Linked DNA regions of Homo sapiens: all the other regions are linked to region 2. Evidence: promoter capture Hi-C in 16 types of primary human blood cells and fetal thymus (Javierre and others, 2016). All regions are on one chromosome and are shown on one strand. The core of a region is centred on a gene start or on the middle of the fragment in contact, and the rest is flanking DNA. Distances in the headings are between cores, read along the strand shown.

Region 1 (3,698 bases), core at 880-3,379, 3.8 Mb after region 2:
GGAATCTGTCTCCCCACCTAGACAACTGCACTGGCAGAATCTGTCTGATGTAATTATTTTGGAATTCCAGAGTCTATTCAAAGGATTGCAACTTTCAGAGGAAGTCCTGAACAGTAAATGCAAATTTTGGTCAATTTCAGCACATAGCAAGGTACAACTACCTATCCCCAAGTCCAAGAAACTGTGCATATGCTCCTGGAGAAGCTTCAGGCAGTTTGTGGGAACCATGGTGGGCAAAAAGGTCCATGTCCTATGAAAATTGGAAATCTGTGTTCTGATTGCTGACTGCTGCTTCTGATCTTGAAAGCACAGATACAGGGGGGCAGCCATTGTTGCAACTCTCCCTCCAATGTTGCAAGCCCCTCCCACTACAACAGAAGCAACTTCCAGAGGACTTAAGGGGCCAGCACCTTTGGTGTGGTTTTTTTGTTCTGTTTTTTTTCCTCTCCATTTTCTGTTTGGGGAGCCAGACATTTCAAAAACAGTATATTCAAAAGCAATCACTTATACAGGGAAATGTAGAAAATCACTGTACACACTCAGAGAAAGGCAGGGGCTTTTCCCTGAGAAGCCCTTAAATGTATACCTCAGGTTGATTACCAGCATAGAAACAGCCTATAGCAATCAAAAAACAAAAACTAAAATCAACAAACTCTGGGAAAGATGGGTATTGATTTCCAGAGTTACTGCATTATTAAATAATATTTGAATGTCTAGTTTCCAACAACAACAACAACAAAAAATCACAAGAAACAGAATAAGGCCCATTCAAAGAAACAAAAAAATATATAAACCAACAGAAACCATCCTGGAAAGACCAAATGGCAGACTTGCTAGACAAGGACTTTAAAACCACTATCTTAAAGATGCCAAAAGAACTAACGAAAGATGTATGTATGAAGAACATGGAAATATCAATGAAGAGATAGAAAACTTAAAACCAAAAATAAATTCTTGGGCTGAAAAATATAATAACTGAAATGAAAAACTCACTAGAGTGATTCAAAGGCAGTTTTGAGCAGGCAGAAAAATTAGTGACCTTGAAGATGGGAAAACTGAAATAATTGAGTATGAGGAACAGAAAAAAAAAGGTCTGAAGAAAAGTAAACAGACCTTAAGGGACCTGGGGACACCATCGAGTGGACCAACCTATACATTGCAGAAGTTCCAGAAGGAGAAGACACTGAAAAAGGGGTAGGAGATTATCCAAACAAATAATGCCTAAAAACTTTCCAAATTTGATTTAAAAAACATGAATATAAACATCCAAGAAACTCAACAAATTCCAAATAGGATGAACTTAGAAAGACCCACACCAATATATGTTATAATAAAATTGCAAGGCTGGGCACGGTGGCTCACGCCTGTAATCCCAGCACTTTGGGAGGCTGAGGCAGGCGGATGACCTGAGGTCAGGAGTTCAAGACCAGCCTGACCAACATGGAGAAACTCCGTCTCTACTAAAAATACAAAATTAGCCAGGCATGGTGGCGCACGCCTGTAATCCCAGCTACTTGGGAGGCTGAGGCAGGAGAATTGCTTGAACCCAGAAGGTGGAGGTTGTGGTGAGCCAAGATCGTGCCATTGCACTCCAACCTGGGCAACAAGAACAAAACTCCGTATCAAATAAAAAATTTAAAAATTGCAAAAAGACAAAGACTCTTAAAAGCAACACAAGAGAAGCAACTCATCACATACAATGGACTGTTAATAAGAATATCAACAGATTTCTCATCAGAAACTTTGGAAGCCAGAAGGAAGTGGGCTGATATATTCAAAGTGCTGAAATAAAAAAAAAATTCAAACAAGAATTCTAAATCCAGCAAAACTGTCCTTCAAAAGTGAAGAAGAAACTCAGACATTCCCAGACAAACAAAAACTGAAGGAGTTTATTACCACTAGACTTGCCCTGTAAGGAATGCTAAAAGGATTCCTGCTGGTTGAAATGAAAGGACATTAGCTAGTACCTCAAAGCCATAGGAAGAAATAAATTTACCTCAGTGAAGGTAATACACGAACAATTATAAAAGCCAGTGTTATTTTGTTAGTTTGCAACTCCAGTTTTTGTATTCTATATGATTTATGAGACTAATACATTTTTGAGAAATTATTATTAGCTTAAAAGCTAGTAGTAGGCCAGGAGCAGTGGCTCATGCCTGTATTCCCAGCACTTTGGAAGGCCGAGGCAGGAGGATTGCTTGAGCCCAGGAGTTCAAGACCACCCCTGGCAACATAGTGAGACTCTATCTCTACAAAAAAATATTAAAAATTAGCCAGTCGTGGTGATGTGCACCTGTAGTCCCAGCTACTCAGAAGGCTGAAGTGGGAGGATTGCTTAAGCCTGAGGTCAAGGCTGCAGTAAGCCATGGTCGTGCCACTGCACTCCAGCCTGGGCAAGAGAGCAAGACCCTATTTCAAAATAAAAAATAAAAATAAAAAAGCTATTATTATAATAACTTTGGTTTGTAACTCCACATTTTGTTTTCCACATTATTTAAGAGATTAATACATAAAAATTATTAGTTTATGTTTTCAGACACACAATATATAAATTTGTAATTTGATAACATCAATAACTGAAAGTTAAGTGTGGACGAAGCAGTATAGGAACAGAGTGTTTACATATAAATAACAAGTACTAAAATGACAAGTCTCTCCTTATCAGTGATTACTTCAAATGTAAATGGATTAAATTCTCCACTCAAAACATAGAGACTGGCAGAATGCATTTTTTTAAAAATATGTTTTTGTATACGTGGGTTCACACACAAAAACAGAAACAGAAAAAATTAGCTAACTATATGCTGTCTCTGAAACACTCACTTTAGATCTAGAGATACAAATAGGCTGAAAGTAAAAGGATGGAAATAAGTATTCCAAAGCAAATAGCACCCAGAAGAGAGCAGGGGTGGCTATAAATAAACCAGTCATAAAAAGACAAATACTATATGATTTCACTTACATAAGGTACCTAGAATAGTCAAATTCACAGTGACAAAAAGTAAAATTGTGGTTTCCAGGGACTGTGAGGAGAAGGAATGAGGATTTATTGTTTAATGGGTACAAAGTTTATTTTGTAAGATGAAAAGAAGGGCTGGGCGGGGTGGCTCACGCCTGTAATCCCAGCACTTTGGGAGGCCGAGGCGGGCGGATCACGAGGTCAGGAGGTCGAGACCACGGTGAAACCCCGACCCTACTAAAAATACAAAAAAGTAGCCGGGCACGGTGACAGGCGCCTGTAGTCCCAGGTACTCGGGAGGCTGAGGCAGGAGAATGGTGTGAACCCGGGAGGCGGAGCTTGCAGTGAGCCGAGATCGCGCCACTGCACTCCAGCCTGGGCGACAGAGCGAGACTCTGTCTCAGAAAAAAAAAAAAAAGAAAGAAAAGAAAAGGAAAGAGATTTGGAGATGAATAGTGATGATGGTTGCACAACAACGTAAATGTACTTAATGCCACTAAACTGTACACGTAAAAATGGTTAAGACAGTAAATTTTCTGTTATTAGACATGTATTAGTTTTTAAAAAAGAAATTAAATGGAGAAAAGACAACTTCACAATCATAGTTGAAGATTTTTAACACCCTTCTTTTGGTAATTGATAGAACAAGACACAAGTTAAGCGGAGACACAAAAGATGTGAATGACACTTTCAAACACTTCGACATAATTAATATTTATAGATACTCCCAATGACTGCA
Region 2 (3,632 bases), core at 703-3,202:
CCGTTTTGGAAGTGATTAAGAAATGAGGCTCCACCCTCTTGAATGGGAATAGTATCCTTACAAAAGAGGTTGACAGGAGTGTCCTAGTTCCCCCCCCTTTTTTTTTGCCCTTTTGCCTCCCATCCCTTCCCTCATGTGAGGACACAGTGTTCGTCCCCTTCTGTGGACCCAGCAAAACAAGGCACTATCTTGGAAGCAGATAGCAAGCTCTTATCAGACACTGACTCTGCTGGTACCTTTATCTTGGACTTCTTAGCCTTCAGAACTCTGAGAAATAATGTCTATTATTTATAAATCACTCAGTCTAAAGTATTCTGTTATAGCAGTGGAAATGGGCTGAGATAGGCACTAATTCCAGTTATGAGGTTAGAGCCCTCATGACCTAATCAATATCCCAAAGCCCCACCTTTTAATACTATTGCACTGGTGATTAGGTTTCAACATATGAATCTGAGGGAACACAAACTTTCAGACCCTAGAAGTGCCACTAAAAGAGAGCTCAGAGAGCTAGCTTTCCCCTTCTATCATGTGAGGGCACTGTGAGTAGGTGCCTTCTGTGAGTCATCTGTGAATCTCTGGGTCCTCACCAGCGACCAGATTGGCTAGCACCTGGATCCTGGATTTCCAACTTTCAGAACTGTGAGAAATAAATTTGTTGTTCATAAGCTGCCTAGTTTATGATATTTTGTTACAGCAGTCAACACAGACTAATACACTACTCTTCTTTGTTTCCAAGTTTTCTTGATAATTAATTATGTGATCTTCCATATAAAACTTAAAATTAATTAGTTCTAAAACACATATCCCCAAGAGAATTTGGGACTCTCATGAGAATTGCACTAATTTTGTAATTTGACTTGGGAAGAATTGACAGTATTTTTGATACTGACTACTCACCTAAGAATACAGCATGTTTTACATTTACTAGGGCCTTATTACTGCCTTTTCAGTAAAGGTTTATAATAAAGATTGTGTAACTTGTTAAAGTTTATCCCTAAGTATTTTATGGTTTCTGTTGCCATTGTGGAGGAAATATTATTTCATTTTTAATATGTTTTTGCTTATTCAAATAATTCTAATTTTTCTTCTACTTACTTAAGCTTTATTATTGCACTCAATTTTAAAATTGAGGCACCTAGATTTTCAAGGGTTCCTGTCATCTGCAAATATTAACATTGCCTTTTCCTTTTAGGTCTTAACAATGACACAGTTTGTTGTGCCACATAGGGACGAAGCTTTTCGTGGCTAGGGTTGAGGAGGGCTTGCTGGTTATGTGCAAGGGCTTTGCACAATATGATCTAGGTTCACGTCCCTGCTCTGTCACCTACTGGTTGTGTGACCCTTATTTAACCTCTGTGGACCTCAGGGTCCTCATCTCTGAAACGTGGATAATAGTAGTACTTAATTCAGAATTGTAAGAATTAAGCACTTGTTAATACATTAAAGCATTTAGAAGGCACATTAAGCCCTATAGTAAGCATTAGGTTACATTCATCAAAACCTGCTGCCTACTTACCTCCTGCAAGTCTCATAAGCACTTCAGAAAGTGTGGTGTCTCCATTCTACGAATGAGGAAACTAAGTCCAAGGCAGCAAGTGATGAGTGCAGGGTCACTTGGAGATACATTTTAGGGCTGCCCCACAAGACCAGCTCCTAGAAAATAATGCAATCAATCAACTTCTGCGAGGCCGGACTTAAATCCCACTAAAACGTGCTTAATTCATTCAACAGGCGTTGGCATCTTACCAGGGAGGAAAAAAAAAAAAAGAGTACGCCAAGGCGAAAAGGAGAGTCTCCATCTATTGCGTCTCAGGCTTCCGCCAAGACTGGCGGAAAAAAACGAGTCCGCTCCGAAGCGCTCGCCTGCCTTCGGCAAAAATCGTCAGGAGGCGGGGCCCACGCTTCGGCACGTTTCGCGCAGGGCATTGTGGGAAGGGCGGCCGGTGCAGCCGCAGCTGCCATCTTAGGGGCGCCTGGCGCTACGGGTTTCTCGTTGGAGGCGGCCTTCGTGGCAGCTGTAGACGCCGGGAAAAGGCATAAAGTCCGTTGGCCGACACCTTTCTTTCCTCCGGCCTCGGTAGAACCGCCAGCCCGCGTCCGAAGGCGGAGGCGAGGGGAACTGGCCGCGTGAGGGGCCTGAGGCGAGCGGTTAGAGCGTCTCCCGGAAGGATGGGCCGGTCTCGGAGCCGGAGCTCGTCCCGCTCCAAGCACACCAAGAGCAGCAAGCACAACAAGAAGCGCAGCCGGTCCCGGTCGCGATCCCGGGACAAGGAGCGCGTGCGGAAGCGTTCCAAATCTCGGGAAAGTAAACGGAACCGGCGGCGGGAGTCGCGGTCCCGTTCGCGCTCCACCAACACGGCCGTGTCCCGGCGCGAGCGGGACCGGGAGCGCGCCTCGTCCCCGCCCGACCGCATCGACATCTTCGGGCGCACGGTGAGCAAGCGCAGCAGCCTGGACGAGAAGCAGAAGCGAGAGGAGGAGGAGAAGAAAGCGGAGTTCGAGCGGCAGCGAAAAATGTGAGTGCCCGCGCGGGGAGGGACCGGGGCGTGCGGAGAGCAGGGCGCGGGGCGAGGGCGTGGGGCCGGGGCGGGACGGTGCGGGCCGGGAGAATGGCGGGGACGGTCCGGGGCTGGGGACCGGGCGCGGGAACGGGTCGGAGAGGCGGCGGCGGGGCGGGCAGGCTTGGCGTTTGGAAAGCTTGGGGTGGGACAGACCCAGAAGTTGTTCGGGATGGAAAATTCGAGGGCTTGAGCAGAAAGGGTTTAAGAGAAGGCGATTTTGGCGCGAGAGAGGAGTGGTGTCCCGGAAGTAGGGGTGGAGTTCGGAGTGAGGTCGGAGAGCTGCGTTGGCTTGTGAGGCCGGGAGCGAGCCGGCCTGCAGATGTGGAGGGTGGTGAGCGTTTGCTGGTCGGCTTGAGGAGGAGAGAGAAGGGAATTAACCTTTGAGATGCGAATCACAGCTGGCCAGAAGCATTCTATTGAAGCTCAAATTTGGGACAGGACTTAACTAATCTCGGGAATCATACACTTTAGGTGGTCCGCCAGAAAAATGCATTTTCACTTTAGTGTATTCCTGTTGTTAAGGTGTTGGGATTGCTTTTTTCCCCTTGAGCCTACACCCTCACCCCTTCCTTGAGATGTTAAAAAAAAAAAGCATAGACCTTAAGTGTACAGTGCGATGAGTTTTTTGACCTTTGAATTCACCTGTGTAATCACCATCCCAAAGCCTACCGCTTTTTTAACTTGCTTTCTATTCCTGTAGCAAACACGTGCAGTTTTGTTGTTTCCCTTACACTGTGCTTCTTCAGAAGACACTTGAAGGGTTGATTTTATTTTGGCGTTGCTCCCATGAAGGATATTTAGTGAAAACTAGAGTTAGAGTGTGTTTCCGAAAATGTCAGCTCTCAAGTATTTCTGGCTATGAAAGTAGATGTGGATAAATAATCCCAAACTAAAGGAATTTTTGGGTTTTAAAATTTAGGGATTTGTTGTGTGTTTTGCTTTATGATCATCGTACTTTGATGCTCTGGGTATTCAGTTTCCAAAAACCGCATTGAAAAGTAGATTTGAACAGTCCTACTAACTCCCTATTGAACCAGCCGTACTTGGTCAGTTCTTCAGTGAATATTTAGA
Region 3 (4,079 bases), core at 1-2,500, 3.7 Mb after region 2:
AGTTTAGCGCCAGTGGTGATGCCTTGGTGGTTACTTGCTTCCGTCACGCTGGCATCCTGAAGGCGTTAAGCATTAAAACAATGTGCAAAAGCGCCTTCTTGGTGGAGTAACGGGCTTTTGTTTTTGTTTGAGACAGGGTCTCACGCTGTCGCCCATACTGGAGTCCAGTGGCGCATTCTTAGCTCACTGCAGCCTGGAACTCCTGCTGCCCGAGCTCAAGCAACTTTCCCATCTCAGCCTCTCAAGTAGCTGGGACCGCAGGTGCGCACCACTATGCTTGGCGAATTATTTTTGTAGAAATGAGGTCTCCCTGTGTTGCCCAGGCTGGGAACTATTTTCTACACGCTTTTTTAGTATCGGTTTCTACCTTTGCGCCGCCGTGTGTGAAGATACTTAACACAAAGTGTTGTTTTACACGTGAAGAGACAACCAAAAGGTGGATGCCTTCTTGGTTTTGTACTATTTATTTATATGCTAGCACGTAGTAACTAAAGAATAATAAAATTTAAAGCCTGTGAAAATGTTAGGGTCCCAAAATTACTAAGCAAAAGGGAAAAGTCAAGCTGGGAACTGCTCAGGGCAAAACCTGCCTCCCATTCTAGTCAGTCATCCTTCTGCTCACTGAGATAGATGCATATTCTGATTGTCTCCTTTGGAAAGGCTTATCAGAAACTCGTATGCAGCCTTTTGTCTCTCATCTACCTGTGACCTAGAAGCCCTTCCTGCTTCCGAGTTGTCCCCACCTTTCTGGAAGGAACCAGTGTACTTACATATGTTGATTGATGTCTCCTGTCTCCCTAAAATGTATAAAACCAATCTGTGCCCCAACCACCTTGGGCACATGTCATCTGGACTTCCTGGGGCTGTGTCACAGCTGCGCGTCCTTAACGTTGGCAAAATAAACTTTCTAAATTAACTGAGACCTGTCCCAAATTTTGGGGGTTCACAAGCCTTAATCCTTGACATATAGTTTAGTTTTCTTCAGCATCTAAAAGTTATAATGCCGCGGCTTGTAGATCAGAAAGGACTAGAAATCAATTAACAGAGTAACCCCAGAAAAGGCCACAGCTCTGGAACCCTCAGGCCAAGATTCAAATCCCCGCATCGTGCCTCACTATGGTGTTTAGCATCCCTGAAGTCACAGTTGTTCAGAATTTGTGTCTCCATCAGTAATCAGGGCATAAAACCAACCTTGCAGACTTCAGTAAGTATTCAAGGTGTTACATGCAACGCACTTAGCACTAGTAACTATAAAGGATAGTATTAGCATCCATATTTGTTCAAATTGGAACGAAATTTAAACTCAGTGAAAAGGCTGACTTAAGGGAGCAGGCAATTTTTTAAAGACTTCTTTATAACAGAAGTATACGGGAAATTGATTTTTTTTATTTTTTTATTTTTTATTTTTTTGACAGGGTCTCACTCTGTCGCCCAGGCTAGAGTGCAGTAGTGCAGTCTCAGCTTACTGCAACTTCCACCTCTCAGGCTCAAGTGATGCTCTTGCCTCAGCCTCCCGAGTAGTTGAGATTACAGGCCCCCACCACCACGCCCTGATTTTTTTTTTTTTGAGACAGGGTCTTGCTTTGTTGCCCAAACTGGTCTCAAACAATCCTCCTGCCTCAGTCTCCCAAAGTGCTGGAGTTACAGACATGAGCCACCGTGCTCCGTGGAGAAATCCATTTTTAGCAAAACCACTTCTATGCTCAATAAGATGGTTCACAGTGGCCATGTTTGGTTGACCTAGTCACATCTAATTTGCTACAGGAATAATCCTGACAAAGTGTTTTTTGCATTTCCTCCATATGTAAAGTAATCCCCAGAAACTGTTCCCAGTTGTTATTTTACTGAGAGTAATATAACTGCCTGTTCAGTATTTGTCTCTTCCCCATGGTAAACTGTAAACTTACTGAAACGAAGAACGATTTTCGTGACTGCTACATCCCCCAATCCTGGCACTTAGCAGTTCTGTAAATATTGCCTAAATGACCTCTTAAGCCTCTAGTCTAAAGCTCTCCAGTGCACCTTGCAGTCTGCTGAAAGAATCTGCTTGGAGGTTAGGCTGATCATTCATTCAGATCTCATCTGAACCATATGTTGCCTTGTGTTATGGTCTGAATTGTGTCCTCCAAAATTCATCTGTGGAAGCCTGAGTACCTCAGAATGTGACTATCTGAAGACACAGCGTTTAAAAATGATTAAATTGAAACGAGGCCATTAGGATAGGCCCTAAATCCAATTTGACTGGTGTCTTTGTAGAAAGAGGAAATTGGGCCACAGGGAGAGACTCCAGGGATGATAGGCACAGAGGAAAGGCCTTGTGAGGACACAGTGAGAAGGCGGCCCTCTGCAGGTGAAGGAGACAGGCCTCAGAAGAAACCAAACCTGCCTGCTCCTGGACTTCTAGTTTCCAGAACCATGAGAAAACAAATTTCTGTTGTTTACGCCACCCTGTCTGTGGTGTTTTGTTATGGTAGCCCTGAGAAACTAAGACACTGTGATCCTAGGCAGGTTTCTTCACCAATGAAACCCTCAGTTTCTGCCAGTAAAATTAGAATGCGACCAACATCTTGTTGTTCTTGTTGCTGCTGAGCTATTTAAGAACTGACCTGGTAATGGTGTATAATTTAGTTTGTTGAGTGAATCGCTGGTACAGGAGGGGTGGGAGTGTTATTGGTAAAGTTGAGATGCAGAATGTGATGGATCCTAGAAGAGCTGCCTGAGCCCCTCCAGTCTGGGAGAAGACAAGTTGGCAAGTATTTTGGGTGCTGCACCAACTTGGCCTAATGATGGCACACAGTTCTTTAACAGTAATAGCAGTAGGGAAAGGAATTGCTGCAGAATTTGATCTAAATAAACTTTTTTTTTTCTGCCTGTGAGCTGGGTAAAAATAAATAGCCAACATAGGCATTTGAGTATTGTAAGTACTTTTAAAACCAAAGCAAAGGCTGGGCATGGTGGCTCACGCCTGTAATCCCAGCACTTTGGGAGGCCGAGGCAGGCAGATCACTTGAGGCCGGGAGCTCGAGACCACCCTGGCCAACATGGTGAAACCCAGTCTCTACTAAAAATACAAAAATTAGCCGGGCATGGTGGTGCATGCCTGTAATCCCAGCTACTCGGGAGGCTGAAGCAGGAGAACCACTTGAACCCGGGAGGCGGAGGTTGCAGAGAGCACCACTGCACTCCAGCCTTGGCAATAGAGCGAGACTCTGTCTCAAAAAAATAAAGCAACATTCTTGAATATGAAATATTCTTTTGAAGAAACAGCAACTAAGGGGTGCATATGTGATTTAAAAGGAATTAGCTCCTTAAGATGCTATCTAAAGGGCTCTCTCTAAAGACTCTGAATAGTAAAATTCACATCTTTTGGAATAATAGCAAGCTCTTAAATAGCACTTCCTATCTACAAAGCACTGTTCTAAACACTACATGTATTAGCTTATTCTTCAAATTCATTTATAAAGTAGATACTATTACCCCCACTTTACTAATGAGGAAATAGGCACAGAAAAAAAATTAACCTTAACTTGCCTATATCACTATAGGTGATATAGCTTGTAAGTGCAGAGCCAGTATTTGAACTTTCACTGTATCTATAGGATTCCTAAGAGCTGACCAAGAAATCAAATATCAAGGGAATTTTACTAATCTTCTAAGAGAAGTATGCAGTAACTCTTGCTTACAGCTTCTGCGGGAAAGATAATCTCACTAAACTCAAACCTCATTGTGCTCTTAATAACTGGAAAGCCAAACTTGGAAGCCAAACTTAGAACAGATCAAGACTTTTATAAAAATTGATTATGGTCAATAGTCTGAATAACTCATCCTGTTTTTCTAGGTGTCTCCCTATCCTTTAATTTCTTATTTTATTTTGCATTTTTCTCCTTTCCTCTTGGTTCTTCCTACCTACGTCTTCTCTGAAATATTCAGTTGAACTGTATGAAATTGCTAATATTCAACCATTTTTGACCTACAAAGATGACAACTTCATTTGGTTCAAGCTAATAAAAGAATCAAATTTTCTATTTCCTATTAAATTAGAAATCTAAAATTACAGTCATCATAATGCATATTGTTTC
Region 4 (3,925 bases), core at 451-2,950, 3.5 Mb after region 2:
AGAAAATATGCTAAATATATGCAAAGGAATACTATTCAGCCTTAAACAAGAAGGAAATTCTATCAAGTGAAATAAACCAGGCACAGAAAGACAGATACCACATAATCTCACATATATGTGGAATCTAAAAAATCGAACTAATCCAAGTAGAGAGTAGAATAGTGATTAACAGGAGCTGGATACATGGGGGTTTGGGGAGAGGTTGGTCAAAGGATACAAAATTCCAGTTCGAGAGGCAGAATATATTCCTAATCAATTGTACAATGTAGTGACCATAGTTAATAACAGTACTATACTTCGAAAAATGCTAAGAGAATAGATTTTAAGTGTTCTCACCATAAAAAAAGGGATAAGTATCTGAGGTAATGGATCTGTTGATTAGCTCTATTGAGCCTTTCCACAATGTATGCATAATCTAAAACATCACGTACAAGATACTACAATTTTTAGTTGTCTATTTTGAAAATAATTTGTATGAGGTTTGCAGAAATAGAAAAGTGAAGATTCAGTCATTTAACAGTACGAACCACTTTAAAGGAATCTTAGATTTTCAGAAGTGAGTCCTGAAGAATATAGACTCAGGCAACAGATGTTTAGTAAAGCCATCCTCAGTTTTCTAAGAAAAAAAAAACATACACATACAAACAAAAAACAATGGTCAAGTCCTGAAAGGGTATCTTTTGCTTAGGAATTTCAGTAATTGATAGATCCAGGAAATCTCACAGAGGAAAAACAGATTTCCAAATGAGTCATTCCATGGAAATGGTTCGGTGGAATGGCTACATTCCTGAGCTTGGCTTCCCAGAGGTCTCCTTGGCCAGAAATGGTGGACGGCAGCAGGAACTTCTCAAATCATGCCAAGATCCTGGGACTGACCTGGAATGGAACCATAGAGAAGCTGGAACAGAAGCTGTTTGTTCATTTGCCAACATTTACCTCAGTATGAAACTGCCAAATAAAAAATGCCAACAAATTTTTAAGAGAATTCCCCTTGGCTGCACAACAATAAGAAAAGGACCGAGTAAAAATTAAGATGTAAATATTTACAATGCCCTTTCCTGAGCTCAGTGCACAGAATCTTGCCTAATGTTTGATAGCAGGAAGCATCCTTTCATCAATTTTGTGTTATAATCAACCTTATGAATTAAGAATAAAACCTTAAATCAGATCATGATACACAGTTGAGGCTATTTCCCACATAGGCACACCAATGCTGGAAAACATAAACGTTTAAAAAAAAGAACACCAATTTGTAGGACCTAAGTCCAGAAAATATAAGGATAAATATACATCTTACTTATTAAGCTTTATGTGCTTTTCAACTGAAGGCCTTGTTAAAGGAACAGTCAAGTATAATTACTTGGTTATTGGACCAAAAATAAAGTATAATTTTCTATATATATGTGTCACAGAAAGAGGCCACTTGGGATAGTGGCCCAAAATTGGGTATACAGGAGATTTCAGTAGAGATGCTTTCATTATTGCATTGCAATAAAGATTTACAAGTTAATCAAATGCCATGAAATGTTTCTTGGATAATCTATGCAGCCAACACTGCATTGACGAGTAGGTGTTTAAATTTACAGCCTCAAAGCAGTGGAAGTTTGCTGACAGATACAGCACAGAACATCTTAGTAGGAAAACACCCTTGAAAGCAATTCTTTATTATGTTCTCAACATCCTCTTTCCCACCTGTGCCTGTAGCCCCAGGAGCTGCCAGCCCTTCAGTAATGACACACAATCTATTAGCTTAAAACACTGAGGCAGTTGGACAGGAGCTATCTTTGGACTAAAGTACATTGTCTGTCTGCTGTTTACCTCTTAACTCATGCCTTGTTATGCCCACGTACCCTGCGGTCCCCTTTTAAGCATGTTTGCCTATGCATGTAATGGGAGTGAGTGAACAGGCTTGGTTTGGGAATTCTCCCAAATAGCTTCATTGGTGATCTTAACCAGTACTATCCAACTCAACTCCTAAATGTGAGTAGACCACAAAGAAGGCAGTATGTCCCCGGTAGTCTAATTACATTGTTATTTAAGCACATTCTGTTCTTTTTAATATTTTGTTTTTATCTTTTACTGTTATTAAGCTTAATAATGTAATACCGTATCTGATATTTTAAATTCTATATATACACCAAAAAAAGGAAAGTTGAAGGAGGAGGTCAGACACATAAAAGTGTGATATCTCCAGTCAGAGCCAAATTCCTAAAGGGTTAGCCCATTAAACAGCCAAGCAAAATAAGACACAATCGGTGCTAACTTCATTTTCAAAAGTTCCCACGTGTAGGTTTTATAAGTGCCTAGAGGGATGAGTTAGCCTCAATTGTGTCTTGTTTAATTTGGCCACATAAAGGGCTAACCCTTTTCTAACTTGGCTCTAGTTGTAGATATCTCACCTCTAACGTCTGAACTTGATTCTTAACTTGGCTTTTTCAGTGCACATTAAATGTTTCTGATTTGGTATCACTCTAAAAGAATTTGTAAGTGGTTTCTTTGCACTATGTCTGGACGGATTGGGGTCAGGTGTGATTGGTGGGTTTCCACTGTTAAATTATTCCACGCTCCCTCACCCCCACCTAATGGCTACACCTTCTGAGTTCATCTTCTGAGTGGGAGGCCAAAATATCCTGAGATCACGTACTGGGGAACTTAGATATACACACTGCAATTGCAACAAAACAAAATTGATATCTTACTTTGTTGAATAAATGTGTTGTCTTTGCCAAGAGCTTCTGATTGACAATTTTAACTTGAGAAAAAAATAAAGAGAAATTGTCTAATCTAGTAGATAGAATGCAGAAATTAAGTCACTATTTCTATTTCTCCATGTGTTCAATAGACTACAATTTATTACAGAATTCCCTAGTTTATGATTTAGCATGAAGAAATACAATTGGAATAAACCTCTAAACTCCCTCATAGAAATTAACTGCATTCGTTTCCCCCTAATGCACACACACCAAAAAAGAATTTAATCCTACCTGTAGAGATTCATAAAACACAAGATAACCTAAATTATTATAAGAAAAAAGAAAACTTGTATAAAGATTCATAAAATGGAGTAAGCAATGAGTAGATGAACTACAAGTCTTAGAGTCAGAAAACTGCATCTGTACACTGAGTTACGAGTTTTATAACCAGTGGTAAGTCATTTGACCTCACTGAGCCTCCATTTTCTTGTGCATAAATAAAAATTATAATAATTTCTACCTCACTGACAGAATCACATGAGACTACAAACATGAAAGTGCCCTGTAGAGTATAAATTCCAATAACATATTTCACAAATACTATAAAAGAATTAGAGAATGATTAAGTGTTAAATTACAGTGTGACTATAACTGCGAGAGTTCAGAGAAAGGATAGTCCTATGAGTTGGAGATTAGAAAGTGTGCTTTGGAACAGGTGTGATTTGAGGTGGACCTTAAAGGATCTGTTCAATTTGAGCAATACAAGGAAAGAAGAAAGTTCTCTGAATAAGAGAGATAGAAAAGGAATCAGGAGAGGGAGAAGGCTGGCGAGCAGCAGAAACAGATGCATACAGAGAAAAATCACTGCATAGAGAGGAGAGGTGTTAGCCATGAGGAAACAAGAGATAACAGTGCACACCAAGGAGTAACAGAAAAGGGACGGGAGGGACTGAAGGAGCCCTGTATGGACTGAACATTTATGTCCCCCCAATAAGCTGAATCCTTAGTACCCAATTCATAAGCTGAATCCTTAGTACCCAATTCATAAGCTGAATCCTTAGTACTCAATATGACGGTATTTAAAGATGGAGTCTTAGGGAAATAATTAGGGTTAGATAAAGTCATGAGGGTGGGGCTCTGGTCTAATGGGATTAGTACCATTTTAATAAGAGACACCAGTGAGAGTGCACTTTCTCTCTCTCTTTCTCTCTCTCTCATTATGGGTACACAAA
Region 5 (4,016 bases), core at 805-3,304, 3.7 Mb after region 2:
ATTCAATCTGCCTGCATACCCTAGCACACCAGACCCTGGTGGGTTTCAGCTTCTTCCTATTCTCTAAGATTAACCCTTGCCATTTCCTCCCTCCTCCTCTCACACTGGCCTCCTTGCTTCCCTAGAACACAGCCCACAAGCTTCTGCCTCAGCCCCTTTCACTCACTAGTCCCGAGGTATCTATCTACAGTGCTTGCTTCCTATTTCCTGCAGGTCCCTGCCTTGAAGTTACACGAGTAAAGCCTTTCCCAACAACTCTCTGAAACAGCACCTGCACTCTCGATGCCTGAAGTTCACTCTCTCCTCTCCTTTACTGTTATATTTTTCTATTTGGCACTTACCACCAACTGTCAAATTATGATTTATGTATCTGCTTATCATCTGTTTCTCCTACTATTTTACTCTCTGTTCCTTCCCTCTTGTTAAGAACAACTGGCATATAGGAGTCACCAAACATATATTTGCTGGATGAACAGAAGAAGATCAGTGCCAGAAACCCGAATACAGGCCCAGGCGCGGCCTGCTTCCCCTCTCCACCACCTTTTGTTCACTGTGGAGATCTCGGGTAACTAGTCAAAGTTTAACTAAGTCAGTTGATTAACTACCTAAACATACTAGGACTTTAATTCCTTAATTCAAATGTTTAAAATCCTATTCCTCTATATAAGCCAAAGATCACTCATATAAAAATTTGCATAGACCTGCAATTTCCATCAATGCATCAAACTAGTTCCTTGGAAAGAAAACTTCCTAGGACAAACTCTGAAGGTAAATGTCAGAAAGTAATCAAAAAGACTCTGAAGTCTTACCCAATTGATTGTGAAAGTCCACATATTGATAATATTCTACAAACTTGTTTTTATTAAAAAAGTTTCTATAGACATGCCGCGCTCCAAACAGCCAGATATCACTGTCATCAGTGATGGTTCCGGAAGTCTGATCAGTCAGGTCCAGGATGGCGCACTGCGCCTCTGCTTCCATGGGAGCCTGGATGTAGGGAATGCCGAACAGGCGCAGGAGTTCCTGCAGAGTGAGGGGTACACAGTGACGCCCAGGGAAGGGCACCGCCAGGCCCTGAGCACAGGGGGAGCAGTGCCTACCACTTCATGTAATGCATTCATTCCTGCAGAGTTAGGGACACACAGTGACCCCCAGGGAACGGCATCACCAGGCCCTGAGCACCAGGGGGCACAGTGCATACCCCCTTCATGCAGTGCATTCCCCCAGGGGTCTGAAGAAGGTGGTAAAGGAAACCCAAGCTGCCTGCACCCACCTGGCTTTCCAGGAACATCTGTCCGGTGACAGTAGCAGCGATCCGTTCTTGCTGCTGTTTTTGAGCTTTCAGTGAATTCTGCTGTGCTAAGAGGTTGCTCTCCAGAGTTTCCAACTCCTCCTATAAAATGTTTTTTCATTTATAGATTTATATTAATAATCCAAATGAGTTTTGTTTACAAAAAGCCTGCATTTAGTCTGACTGAAATTACCAATAAGCTCTTTCTCCTTAGGAAGTACTCCACTGGATGTCTAACCAAGACTCTGTAATATCTTTAGAGATTCATCACTAAACCACATGGAAAACGGAGTCTATCCCAGCCAGTAACCTACACAAAAATGAAGCCATCAGCAACCACAAGATGTACTGCAAATAGCTACTAAATACTCATCCACCAACTCCTTAAAACTCAAAACCTACTTAACCTGGCTTCCTCAGCAAGAAGTCGAAACACAATGTTACGGTATTACCAAATTAATATCTTGCCATTCATGGAGCGAATCTTCCGCATCTTTCTCAGCTTCCTGTGGCTCACCATCCACGTCGTCCCTCTCAGAGTTGTCCCTCAGGAGGCTCTCGGACTCAGCAGGGGCTTCTCCCTCCCTAGTTCCTACCAGTTCCTCTTCGCCTTGTTCTGAGGGAGGTTTGGAAGTTTCAGGGAATTCTGCTTGAAGTTCCTCATCACTAATCACACTTTGCACTTCAATGAAACTTCCTGTACCAAAATTAAAAGGTCACTTCATCTACAATCAAAACATTAAAATGATCCTGCAATCATCAAGAGCTTTCTGGAGGAACCTGAAAAATGCTACATCCTAAAAAGGAAAGATATGACTATAACAGAATACATGTAATAGTAGCGTTATTAATAAATAAATGTAATCACAAATGCCTGTAACTTCAAAACAAGCCTTTTCAATTAGGTAAACTGGCACTGTCTTTGAAAGTAGGAAACTCTCTTAAGATTTGTATATTCGCTTTATATAAATATGTTCTAAGTTAACTGACATTGTTTTAAAAATTCAAAAAGGAGGATTATCAAAGTATATAAACAATCATGGAAGTTGCTCAGTATGTTTTTATGCTATTTACACAGCACAGAATAAAGCTGTGACTAAGAAATAGTTCTTCCTCTTCCACTTCCCTTCTCTCCTCTCTTACTGTCTTACTGTCTTTCCTTCTCCTTAAAATATATTTAATGGTTGCCTTCCTTCCCTGTAGGTGGAGAGGGCTGGCAAGGCCTGTCCAGCTGGGTTTAAGGAGACAATCAGAACAGAGGAGGGGGCTCTCAGGGACTGGGAGCTGGCACCAAGGACACAGCTGAAGCAAAGAAGAGAGCAGGGCCAAGGAGGAGGCCAGTGGGAGGGGGAGATGGTTACATATCCAGGGAGAATAAGCAGATGTAAATGTATTGAGGATAAGGGGAGCAATGTTTCTCATTGTTAGGGAAACTATAAAGAAGCAGGAGGCTAGACTGAACCCCATGGAATTGCAGATGTCAGTATAAACTCATGGATTTTAGTACAGATAGACATAGAAATAAATATAGATGTGTGTGTGCATGTATATGTATACATAAATATACTTCCTGGCACTGTTGCTGAAAAGGCCTGAGACAGTTATACCTCAGGATCCATAAGCACACTCACATCCAGCTTGTGGTGTCTAAACCCCATGCTCCACTGAAAGGAACCAGAGCTCCCTGGTGAAATGGCTGGTTCCAGGACCAGGGCAGAGAAAGTACAACATATGCCTGAAACAGCTTGGCCAGAAAGCAAGGAAAAGCTCAAAATATAATGAAAAAACTGCTGAAAGCCATTAGAAGGAGCCCCAATGGCCAAAGCTGTGATAATTTGAGTAACAAAGTAAATTATGACAGTATTGGATTATAACTCACTAAATAGGAATACAGGAGTCTACACTGATTAAAAATAATAAAAATAAATGGGGAGAAGGAAAAGATCTTCCTCATAGGAGGATGTCAAGTAATAATATATAAGGAATGATGGAGTTAGAAAAACCATCATTTGGCAACCAACGTAGTAACAAATTATTCAGGTAAACATCAATGGATGCTAACAAGTGGGTGGAAGTTTGTTCAGGAACAGCATATTTATATAGCTCCAAAAATTCCTTTTCCACAAAATACTTATTAATTACAAAAGGGAAATAGTAACATTTGAATGAAGAAAACTAGCAGATACCAGGAACAAATTGTGTGTGTGTGTGTGTGTGTGTGTGTGTGTGTGTGTGTGGTTGATTCTCTTATTCAAAGTGGCCATCACGTATGAAGTCTCTGTGAACACTAAATTAGCCAATACCGAGTCATTGCTCCTAAACATATCTATGTGCATATACACACATATGCATATATAACATATATATGAACACATTTCATATATATTATCTTAAATCCTAAAAAACCACCATCTTAATAGATTCCATTTATTTTATAAACAAGAAACAAAGTTCAAGAAACAAATTAGTGACCTGTGTGAAGCTGCCACGCTAACAGGTGCCAGAATAGGGATTCAAATCTGGTCCAACTGGCCTGGGGCCGGAGCTTCTTGCTCTCTCTCCATTGCATAATCCCCTACTGTCCCCACCCTCTGGTCATCTCTCTCAGAACACGGGAACCAGGCAGAGTGTCACCTTGCTTAACCTCAGCAGGGGACAGTGTGGCAACTCAAGCTTTTCCCCAACTCTGCAAATGTCCACAAATGACCACAAAGACATTGCGGTG
Region 6 (3,797 bases), core at 1,282-3,781, 3.7 Mb after region 2:
AAGATAGTAAATACAGCATTTATTTAATTATTTATTTTATTTTATTTTATTTTTTGAGACAGGGCCTTGCTCTGTCGCCGAGGCTGGAGTGCAGTGGCATGATCTCGGCTCACTGCAACCTCTACCTCCCCGGTTCAAACAATCCTCATGCCTCAGCCTCCCAAGTAATTGGGATTCCATGCACTCACCACCACGCCCAGCTAATTTTTGTATTTTTAGTAGAGACGGGGTTTCACTATGTTGGCCAGGCTGGTCTCAAATTCCCAAAATCAAGTGTCCCGCCCCTCTCAGCCTCCCAAAGTGCTGGGATTACAGGTGTGAGCCACTGTGCCGAGCCAGTAAATACAGCATTCAACACATTAAGGTAGTTGTCCAAGAAAGTAATTCTGTGTATGAGAAGACACAAATGTATTACTGAGGGAAGCTAAATTCAGAATGAAGTTGAGTCTGTACTTCAGTATAGCTTTAAAATCTGAAACTTAAGCAACAAAGCAACCACCACCAAATGCAGAGCCATGATCTGCACGGCATAGAGAAAGGAGAAAAAAACTACAGGAATCCACTGGCCTGCTGCATGGAGAAGAGCAGGTATTCTGAGCAGCCAATAAGAGAATTCTGGTCCCTTTGAGATTATGTTTCTTACTTCAAGTTACTCTGTTAACATTCTGACATTCTGAGTTTGCTTAGTATGAGCTTGTCCTGTAGACCCTGATCATCTATAGAGGAATGCTAGATAACTCCATAAGAACTTATAGAGTATATTTTTACACCTTCAAAGACAAGAATAGCTTCTGAAACTCTGATAGGTAATCCAGCAATCTAACATTACTCTGCAAGGTCCTTATTCCCCTGACATCTTTTTTATTTTAAAAAAAAAAAAAAAGATGCCCAGGCTGGAGTGCATGGCACAATCTCAGCTCACTGCAACCTCCACCTCCCGGGTTCAAGCAATTCTCGTGCCTCAGCCTCCCAAGTAGCTGGGATTACAGGTGCACGCCACCATGCCCAGGTAATTTTTTGTATTCTTAGTAGAGAAAAGGTTTCACTATGTTGGCCAGGATAGTCTCAAACTCCTGGCCTCAAGGAATCCACCCACCTCGGCCTCCCAACCTGCTGGGATTACAGGCGTGAGCCACTATGCCAGCTTCCCCTGACATCTTAAATACAACTGGTACATGGAGGACAGCAGGGGAAGGCCAATTTGTGTCAGCTTGGAATGACACTAAGCAGTTTATGCTGTAAGCAAGCACCAAACAGCTCCTAAAGAGGAAAGGGGTATGTTAGCACTGCATGTTCAAGAGATTTATTATTTGTGTCTAATATTAATTGGAGAAAACCAGTACATGAGGAAAACAGAATACTAATGTATTGTCCACCGGAGATGTACTGAGGTGCTTCAGTAAGCTGGTAACAACAATCATGGTGAAGCGATGTGTGAGTTATACAGGAATGAGGCCAGAGACGGGTCTTCTCTGTTAAGCAAAAGTTATGAACTGCAATACCCACTAGAAAAAACTAAATACATGAATATAAATGCAATTTTCAAGCTAGCTGATTAAAAAAATGAGTCTGGACTTGCCTGGTGCAAATGTTGGTGGCTAAGTGAACCCATACTCGGAAGTTATCTGAACAGAGACCTAATGTTGGCAACTCCTAGAATAAATTTTCATTGTGACTAGTGACATCTCTGAAAAAAATACTGATATTAACAGCTAAGTCTTATCAAAATCCCTGGACTTCACTTTTATTCCATTAGTGTGCTTAGTTTACAGTTACTAAGAGCCCACTGGACATAAGCACCGGGGAGTCCCTGAATCACAACAGCGTGGTCCCCAGGAAAACGTAAAGCCCATTGTGAAAAACAGGCTTAGTGGTCCTTAAAAAACAATTTAAGCACAAAGAGAAGATAGATTTAAAAGTGTTTTTAAACAAATAGCGCCACTGACAATGGTTTTCACCAGTGAACATCCCAGAGAGAAATCAGAAAGCCTATCTCTGCAACTCTTTCTTCCACAATGGGAGAGAACGGAAGAGACGTCTGCTTTACACATGAACCACCCTACCGCCTGAATACCATCAGAATTCATAGGGTAACGTGTAATGTCGTGGGCATCATATCTAGCATGTAAGGGCTACTCAGAACAGTCCCTATGGTCAAGGAGCTGGACACTCACATTGAACAGGTGAAACATAATAAAACATAGCACATAGCAAATGGAAAATGATGGGTGTGAAAAATCAGTACTAGAGGAATTTAGAGGAATCCAGGGCTAAGGTGGCCAAGGAACATATCAGAGATGAAGCAGGGCTTAACTGGGTCCCCCAATTAGCAAAGGTAAAGACAAAAATATTCCAGGAGGCGTACGCAGATTAATTATCCTTCAGGAAATGCACACAGAAAAGCAGTAAAAAGTCGAATATTCTGGAAAAAAAAAATTGAAAGTAGGAATAAAACTTGAAAAATATATTAAAACTTACTCAAATTACAGTAAGCACCTCAACCCCCTAACAAAAGAAAACAAATTTAAGGAAAATAGGTAGTTTATCCCATTCCTCAATGAAAAGTTTGGATGTATGCTGGAGGAAATTTAAACAAATAGGTTAAAAAAAAAAAAAAAGTCATTGGGACCCAATGCTACACATCCTAGATTATTAAGGGAACTGGTTAACACATGCACCAAATCATTACATTTAAATAAGTCACAAAGAACTTGGGAGGTACCAGACTATTGGAAAATAAAATAAATAAAGTACAGATATTCAAAAGATCTACAAATGAGAATTTCTAGCAAAATTATAGTATAAAATCTTAAAGTTGGACAAGACAGTTGATCAAAAATCTTTTAAAATTCCAGAATAGTGATTCCTAAGTCAACTCTCTCCATGGCCCTTTTAGTGTTTTATTCCATTCCATTAATTATAAAAGTATATGTTCTTACTTTGGGAATTTGATTAAATGTATATAGCTGATGTTTCCTCGATACCCAGAGTTTCTTTGATAGATTTTCTCTCTTATTCTAATTTCTCTGGGTCTTCCTGCTTCCCTTAATTTCCTTTACTTTGACTGACCCATCTCTTCATCTATCCTCTCACTCCATCTAGATACTGCTGATATTAATAGAAAAAGCCATTAACTACTCAAATGAAGTCCTCTTCTAATCAGCAGGCAAAAAGAAAACAAGTAAAAGGAATTATGAGACTTGTTCTGGTGTCTCCCAGGGCCTTACTCATAATGCAGTCTTGGGACACAAGACTGAGAACTGTATTGTAATAGCTTTCCATTATATCCGACACGTAAGTATGACATTCGTTCCAGTGATTATTTCTATACTCCCAGACATGCATTTTGGTCCACACCCCATTAAAAGAGATATAAAGCCACCCTATGAATCAGTTAGGAAGTGATTCTGAGACAATCTTAATCTCTTACTATTTATAATGTAAAAGGCAATGTTCAAGGCACTGCTAAGATGTAAAGTTGAAAACTTCAGATTCAATGAGTTGGCTCATTTCCTGTCCTTAGGAACACACGAAAAACTGTCAACTGAGAGACTCCAGAAGACAGAAGGAGGACGCACTGGGTTCTGATGGAAAGCAGGGCAGATCTAGCACACAGGTGCAGGTGAGTGTGTGTCTGGGAGTGTGGGGAGGGGAGAGCAGGTAGGAGCCAGAAGGAAAGATGAGCTACAGAAAGGGAAAGAGAAAACATTTTCCTTTCCACATCACAAGAGAGAGCTCTTGCAAAGGAAGAATGCCAGCTTTGGAATGGACAACAAAATTCTCTCTTAGAAGTTTCG
Region 7 (4,046 bases), core at 185-2,684, 3.6 Mb after region 2:
TTTTATTTATTTACAGCCAAAGAATATAAGGTAAATTCAAATAATTTAAGATCAAACTACTGCCCTGTTTGTGAAGTCTGGGGTTTGACATGCAGCGGTGGGTTTTGAAGAATGGTTCCTTCGAGTTATTCTGACCACAGCTGTTTTCAGTGCAATTGATTTTTATTACTAATGGGATTGGTGCTCCTCAACATACAATGCAGAGAGAGAGAAAACACGATAGCGAGAGGGTGGAGGAGAGAGAAAGACATTTCCACTGAAACTACTCTAGGACAGTCTTACCACTCCCCTCTAAACCTCACTCCAGGACGCCAGGATGCATGTTGGCAATTTATGTCTCACAGGGCACTCAAGTCCATCATTTCAGAGACAAGAAGCAAAATCCTTACTCTAAGAGAATAGTTGATTCCTCCAAGTTTAGCAGGAAACCAAACTGAAACGGTTGAACTTGAACAAGGAAACATGCTTAAGAACCAGGAATATGTCTGGATAAACTAACTGCATTTCAATAAACACCTTTCTTGGGGTTTATTCTTTAACATAATCAGAGCATCTAAAATATCTCTGTCACCCTGAATGGCAAAACTAAAAGTAAATGACCAAATAGATGTATGTTATGAAAGAAAAGCTTACCCAAAAATGTGGAACCAACCTAAATGCCCATCGACTAATGAGTGTATAAAGAAAATGTGGTATATACACACCACAGAATACTACTCAGCCTTTAAAAGGAATGAAATAATGTCTTTTGCAGCAACTCAGATGGAGCTGGAGGCCATTATTCTAAGTGAAGTAACACAGGAATGGAAAACCAAAACCATATGTTCTCACTTAGCTCTCACAAGTGGGAGCTAAGCTATGAGTATGCAGAGACAAACAGAGTGATATTATGGACTTTAGAGACTCAGAAAGGAGAGGATGGGAGGAGGGCTAGGGATAAAAACTACACATTAGGTACAATGTACACTACTCAAGTGATGAGTGCACTAAAATCTCAGATTTCACCGTTATATAATTCATCCATATAACAAAAAAACACACGGACCCCAAAAGCTATTGAAATAAAACAACAAAAAGAAAAAAAAGAAAAGCTTGCCCAGGTAGTGACTAAGATGGTCTGCAACTTTTTCCATCAGAGCTTGGAGACAACGAAGGAAGCAGAGTAACACTGATCAAATCATTCCATAATCTCCAATGCATGAGCTCAGTTCCAACAATACTGTGACCTTCCGGGCTATTCTCCAAACTTTAAAATACTGCTACTCATCTACAAATGGAGATTCTAATACATACCTTCCAGGATTGTTGTGAGGATTAAATGAACGTGAAGCTTAGCACCAGGGCTGGCAGGCAAGAAAGGCTCAATGGATAAATGTTGCTGTTATTACTGTCGCATCTGTAATTTTTTTACTCTTTAGTACTTAGCAATAAATTGATTTTATGGTAAACATGTATATTTGGCCACAATCATTTTCTTCCATGCATCCAAAGCATACAAAAATTTATTATTTGGCAAAAAGTAAATAAATAAAGCTTTTATTTATTTATTTATTTTGAGATGGAGTCTCGCTCTGTCTCCCAGGCTGGAGGGTAGTGGCGTAATCTTCACTCACTGCAACCTCCCACTCCAGGGTTCAAGCGATTCTCCTGCTTCAGCCTCCTGAGAAGCTGGGATTACAGGCGCCCACCACCATGCCCAGCTAATTTTTGTGTTTTTAGTGGAGACGATTTCACCATGTTGGCCAGGCTGGTCTCAAACTCCTGACCTTGGGTGATCCGCCTGCCTCAGCCTCCCAAAGTGCTGGGATTACAGATGTGAGCCACCACACCCAGGCAAAATAAATCTTTTAATTCAGTGACTCTAAATAAGACCTCTCTCAAAGAGTATATGTTGAATGCCTCCTGCAATCCAGGCACTGTGCTAGGCTGAAAGATTAAAATCCCAGGTGATCCGGCCAGGCGCAGTGGCTCATGCCTGTAATCCTAGCACTTTGGGAGGCCGAGGCGGGTGGATCACCTGAGGTCAGGAGATCGAGACCAGCCTGGCCAACATGATGAAACCCTTTCTCTACTAAAAATACAAAAACTAGCTGGGGGTGGTGGGCGCCTGTAATCCCAGCTACTCGGGAGGCTGAGGTAGCAGAATCACTTGAAGCTGGGAGGCGGAAGTTGCAATGACCCGAGATTGCGCCATTGCACTCCAGCCATTTGGTACTGAGTCCAGCCATTGCACTCAGTACCAAAAAAAAAAAAAAAAAAAAAAAAAAAAAAATCCCAGGTTATCCAAGTCAGCATCAGTTGATGCAAGTTTTTCTGTGGCAATAGAAGGATGAATATTGAGTGATTCCACTTATGTGGGGGATCTGAAATAGTCAAACTCATAGAAACAGAAAGTAAAATGGCAGTTGCCAGAAACTACAAGAAAGGGAAACAGAGAGTTACTGTTCCACAAGTGTAAAGTTCCCACAGTTACAAAGGTGAACACCTGCTGCTCAGCAAGTATAAGCTCTAGAGATCTGCTACGCAATATTTCACCTATGTGTCAAGTGGGTCCATCTCATGTTAAGTGCTCTTTCTCACCAAGATGAAATAAGTAAATTGCTCTTAAAGATGACCTGTGGCTAAGGATGTTCTGAGACTGAAGAACAAGCAGCCTAGGCGAAGTCAACTCACAACTTCAGAGGCCTTGCCAGTCCAACTCTAGACAAAAATAAAAAAGTAAATAAATGAAGCTTTCAATTTAGCAAGACTAAGAAGGTCTCTCTCAAAATGATACAGGTGTACTCCAAGTAAATGTAGGCCAAACAGGAATGTAATAAGTCAATCACGGAGAACCTATCAGCAACTGAAAGTCAAGAAGATAAAAATATAAATTCACATAATGGAAAGAGAGCGTCAGGCAACACTAAGCAATTAGGACTGATGGTTATTCTATTGCCAAAGATCTCAAAAGATAAAAGCATGGTCTAGTCCTCGGTTTCCTCACAGAGGCCCAGATCTACTCACTTTTTTTCACCCATGCTGCTCCCAGTGTCTTTCAAAGCACGTTTGGCTCAAACATATACACATTTGCAAGCTTGCCAAGGCCTTCGAGTACACATGGATGTTCTAAATGATAAACCAGTGCCAGTATTAGCTTTAACTAACACTGAACGCTTTGGGAAAAGTAATGCATGACTAGCTTATGTGGTCTTTAATACTGTTTATTGTCTGCCCCTTTTTGACATCATTCCCTAAAAGAGCCCAATTTAATTCACAACAAAAAGTTGCTATGTGCCATACCAGGTTCTCCTTATAATTATTCATAACATTTTAGGATAATTTTTATGGCTTTTATGACTGCACTAGCCTTCTCAACCTCTCACTTTTACATTTTGAACATTGGCACAAATTTTAAATCTATTGAACCACCCATGGCTTCCCACAGCATTGCATTATAAGCATTATATTTTCGCTCTCTATCTTCCTTGTTTGAATCATCATTTGAATACATAGTATACATTTTTAAATTTCATCCTTTATCTGCATTATCGCTAACTTTTCATTTAGATCCTGCTTTTGTAAGTACTCAAAAAAATCCATAGTGCTATCACAGCAGGTGCTATTTATGAAATGTAAACATTACCAACAATGCAAAAATGAAATTTAATTGTGAGTTGTATGATTTTGTAAGTACCAGGCCAAAAGCTAGACACTTTACATGTATTATCTCATTTAATCTTTAGTAAAATCTTAAGAGACTCCAGTATCATCATCACACCCACTTTACAGAAGATAAACTGAGCTGGAAGACAGTAAGTAATCTGACAAGGTCACATAGCAAAGAGGAGACAAAACTCAGAATCCATCTGTCTAGCTCCAAAACCTAGACTCTTAAGCATTGCACCATGTGCAGAAAACATTATGTGCTCTTTTGTGCTTGCGCTTTTGTTCAAAATACTTTTCAATGTTGAAGTAGCCAAATAAAATCCACATACAATGGAATAAAGGCTTTGGCATTTTTAAGAACCTTTAAACTTTCATTTTTTTTCTTCTAATGTACCCCC

The links. The method cuts DNA at HindIII sites, captures the fragments that hold promoters and counts their contacts. A CHiCAGO score of 5 or more calls a contact.
Region 1: a fragment that was not itself captured here is called in contact with the fragment with the promoter of ARGLU1 in region 2 in 8 of 17 cell types (naive CD8 T cells, total CD8 T cells, M0 macrophages and 5 more); the score reaches 13.2 in naive CD8 T cells.
Region 3: a contact is called between a fragment that was not itself captured here and the fragment with the promoter of ARGLU1 in region 2, in 14 of 17 cell types (total B cells, total CD4 T cells, naive CD8 T cells and 11 more). The highest score is 35.2, in total B cells.
Region 4: a contact is called between a fragment that was not itself captured here and the fragment with the promoter of ARGLU1 in region 2, in 2 of 17 cell types (total B cells and naive B cells). The highest score is 8.2, in total B cells.
Region 5: a contact is called between a fragment that was not itself captured here and the fragment with the promoter of ARGLU1 in region 2, in 13 of 17 cell types (total B cells, activated CD4 T cells, naive CD4 T cells and 10 more). The highest score is 26.8, in total B cells.
Region 6: a contact is called between a fragment that was not itself captured here and the fragment with the promoter of ARGLU1 in region 2, in 7 of 17 cell types (naive CD8 T cells, naive B cells, total CD4 T cells and 4 more). The highest score is 10.6, in naive CD8 T cells.
Region 7: a fragment that was not itself captured here is called in contact with the fragment with the promoter of ARGLU1 in region 2 in 1 of 17 cell types (total B cells); the score reaches 11.1 in total B cells.

What each region holds. Positions count from the first base shown.
Region 1 is chr13:102,809,467-102,813,164 of GRCh38, reverse strand. The region is part of intron 3 of BIVM (basic, immunoglobulin-like variable motif containing); the gene reads right to left. All of the region lies in intron 1 of BIVM-ERCC5 (BIVM-ERCC5 readthrough), which reads right to left. Among named protein-coding and RNA genes, the nearest start is that of BIVM-ERCC5, 4.2 kb to the right of the region's middle. The HindIII fragment of the contact is 3,846 bases long and covers 207-3,698 here.
Region 2 is chr13:106,566,457-106,570,088 of GRCh38, reverse strand. ARGLU1 (arginine and glutamate rich 1) reads left to right here and starts at 1,952. Exons shown (of 4, transcript NM_018011.4): 1 at 1,952-2,516. The coding sequence starts at 2,170. RefSeq lists enhancers at 1,811-1,880, 1,891-2,010, 1,686-2,596 and a silencer at 2,491-2,790. The HindIII fragment of the contact is 1,462 bases long and covers 1,238-2,699 here.
Region 3 is chr13:102,841,663-102,845,741 of GRCh38, reverse strand. The region is part of intron 9 of BIVM-ERCC5 (BIVM-ERCC5 readthrough); the gene reads right to left. Among named protein-coding and RNA genes, the nearest start is that of ERCC5, 2.3 kb to the left of the region's middle. RefSeq lists enhancers at 1-111, 322-371, 1-780. The HindIII fragment of the contact is 8,959 bases long and covers 1-4,079 here.
Region 4 is chr13:103,019,454-103,023,378 of GRCh38, reverse strand. No RefSeq gene overlaps it. Among named protein-coding and RNA genes, the nearest start is that of SLC10A2, 45 kb to the left of the region's middle. The HindIII fragment of the contact is 785 bases long and covers 1,308-2,092 here.
Region 5 is chr13:102,863,639-102,867,654 of GRCh38, reverse strand. It overlaps BIVM-ERCC5 (BIVM-ERCC5 readthrough), which reads right to left. Exons shown (of 23, transcript NM_001204425.2): 17 at 1,744-1,988; 18 at 1,274-1,393; 19 at 810-1,023. ERCC5 (ERCC excision repair 5, endonuclease) reads right to left here. Exons shown (of 15, transcript NM_000123.4): 9 at 1,744-1,988; 10 at 1,274-1,393; 11 at 810-1,023. Among named protein-coding and RNA genes, the nearest start is that of ERCC5, 20 kb to the right of the region's middle. RefSeq lists an enhancer at 768-1,967. The HindIII fragment of the contact is 3,824 bases long and covers 143-3,966 here.
Region 6 is chr13:102,826,097-102,829,893 of GRCh38, reverse strand. The region is part of intron 7 of BIVM (basic, immunoglobulin-like variable motif containing); the gene reads right to left. All of the region lies in intron 5 of BIVM-ERCC5 (BIVM-ERCC5 readthrough), which reads right to left. Among named protein-coding and RNA genes, the nearest start is that of ERCC5, 18 kb to the left of the region's middle. RefSeq lists an enhancer at 3,583-3,797. The HindIII fragment of the contact is 5,979 bases long and covers 1-3,797 here.
Region 7 is chr13:102,969,179-102,973,224 of GRCh38, reverse strand. No RefSeq gene overlaps it. Among named protein-coding and RNA genes, the nearest start is that of SLC10A2, 95 kb to the left of the region's middle. RefSeq lists an enhancer at 2,322-2,521. The HindIII fragment of the contact is 203 bases long and covers 1,333-1,535 here.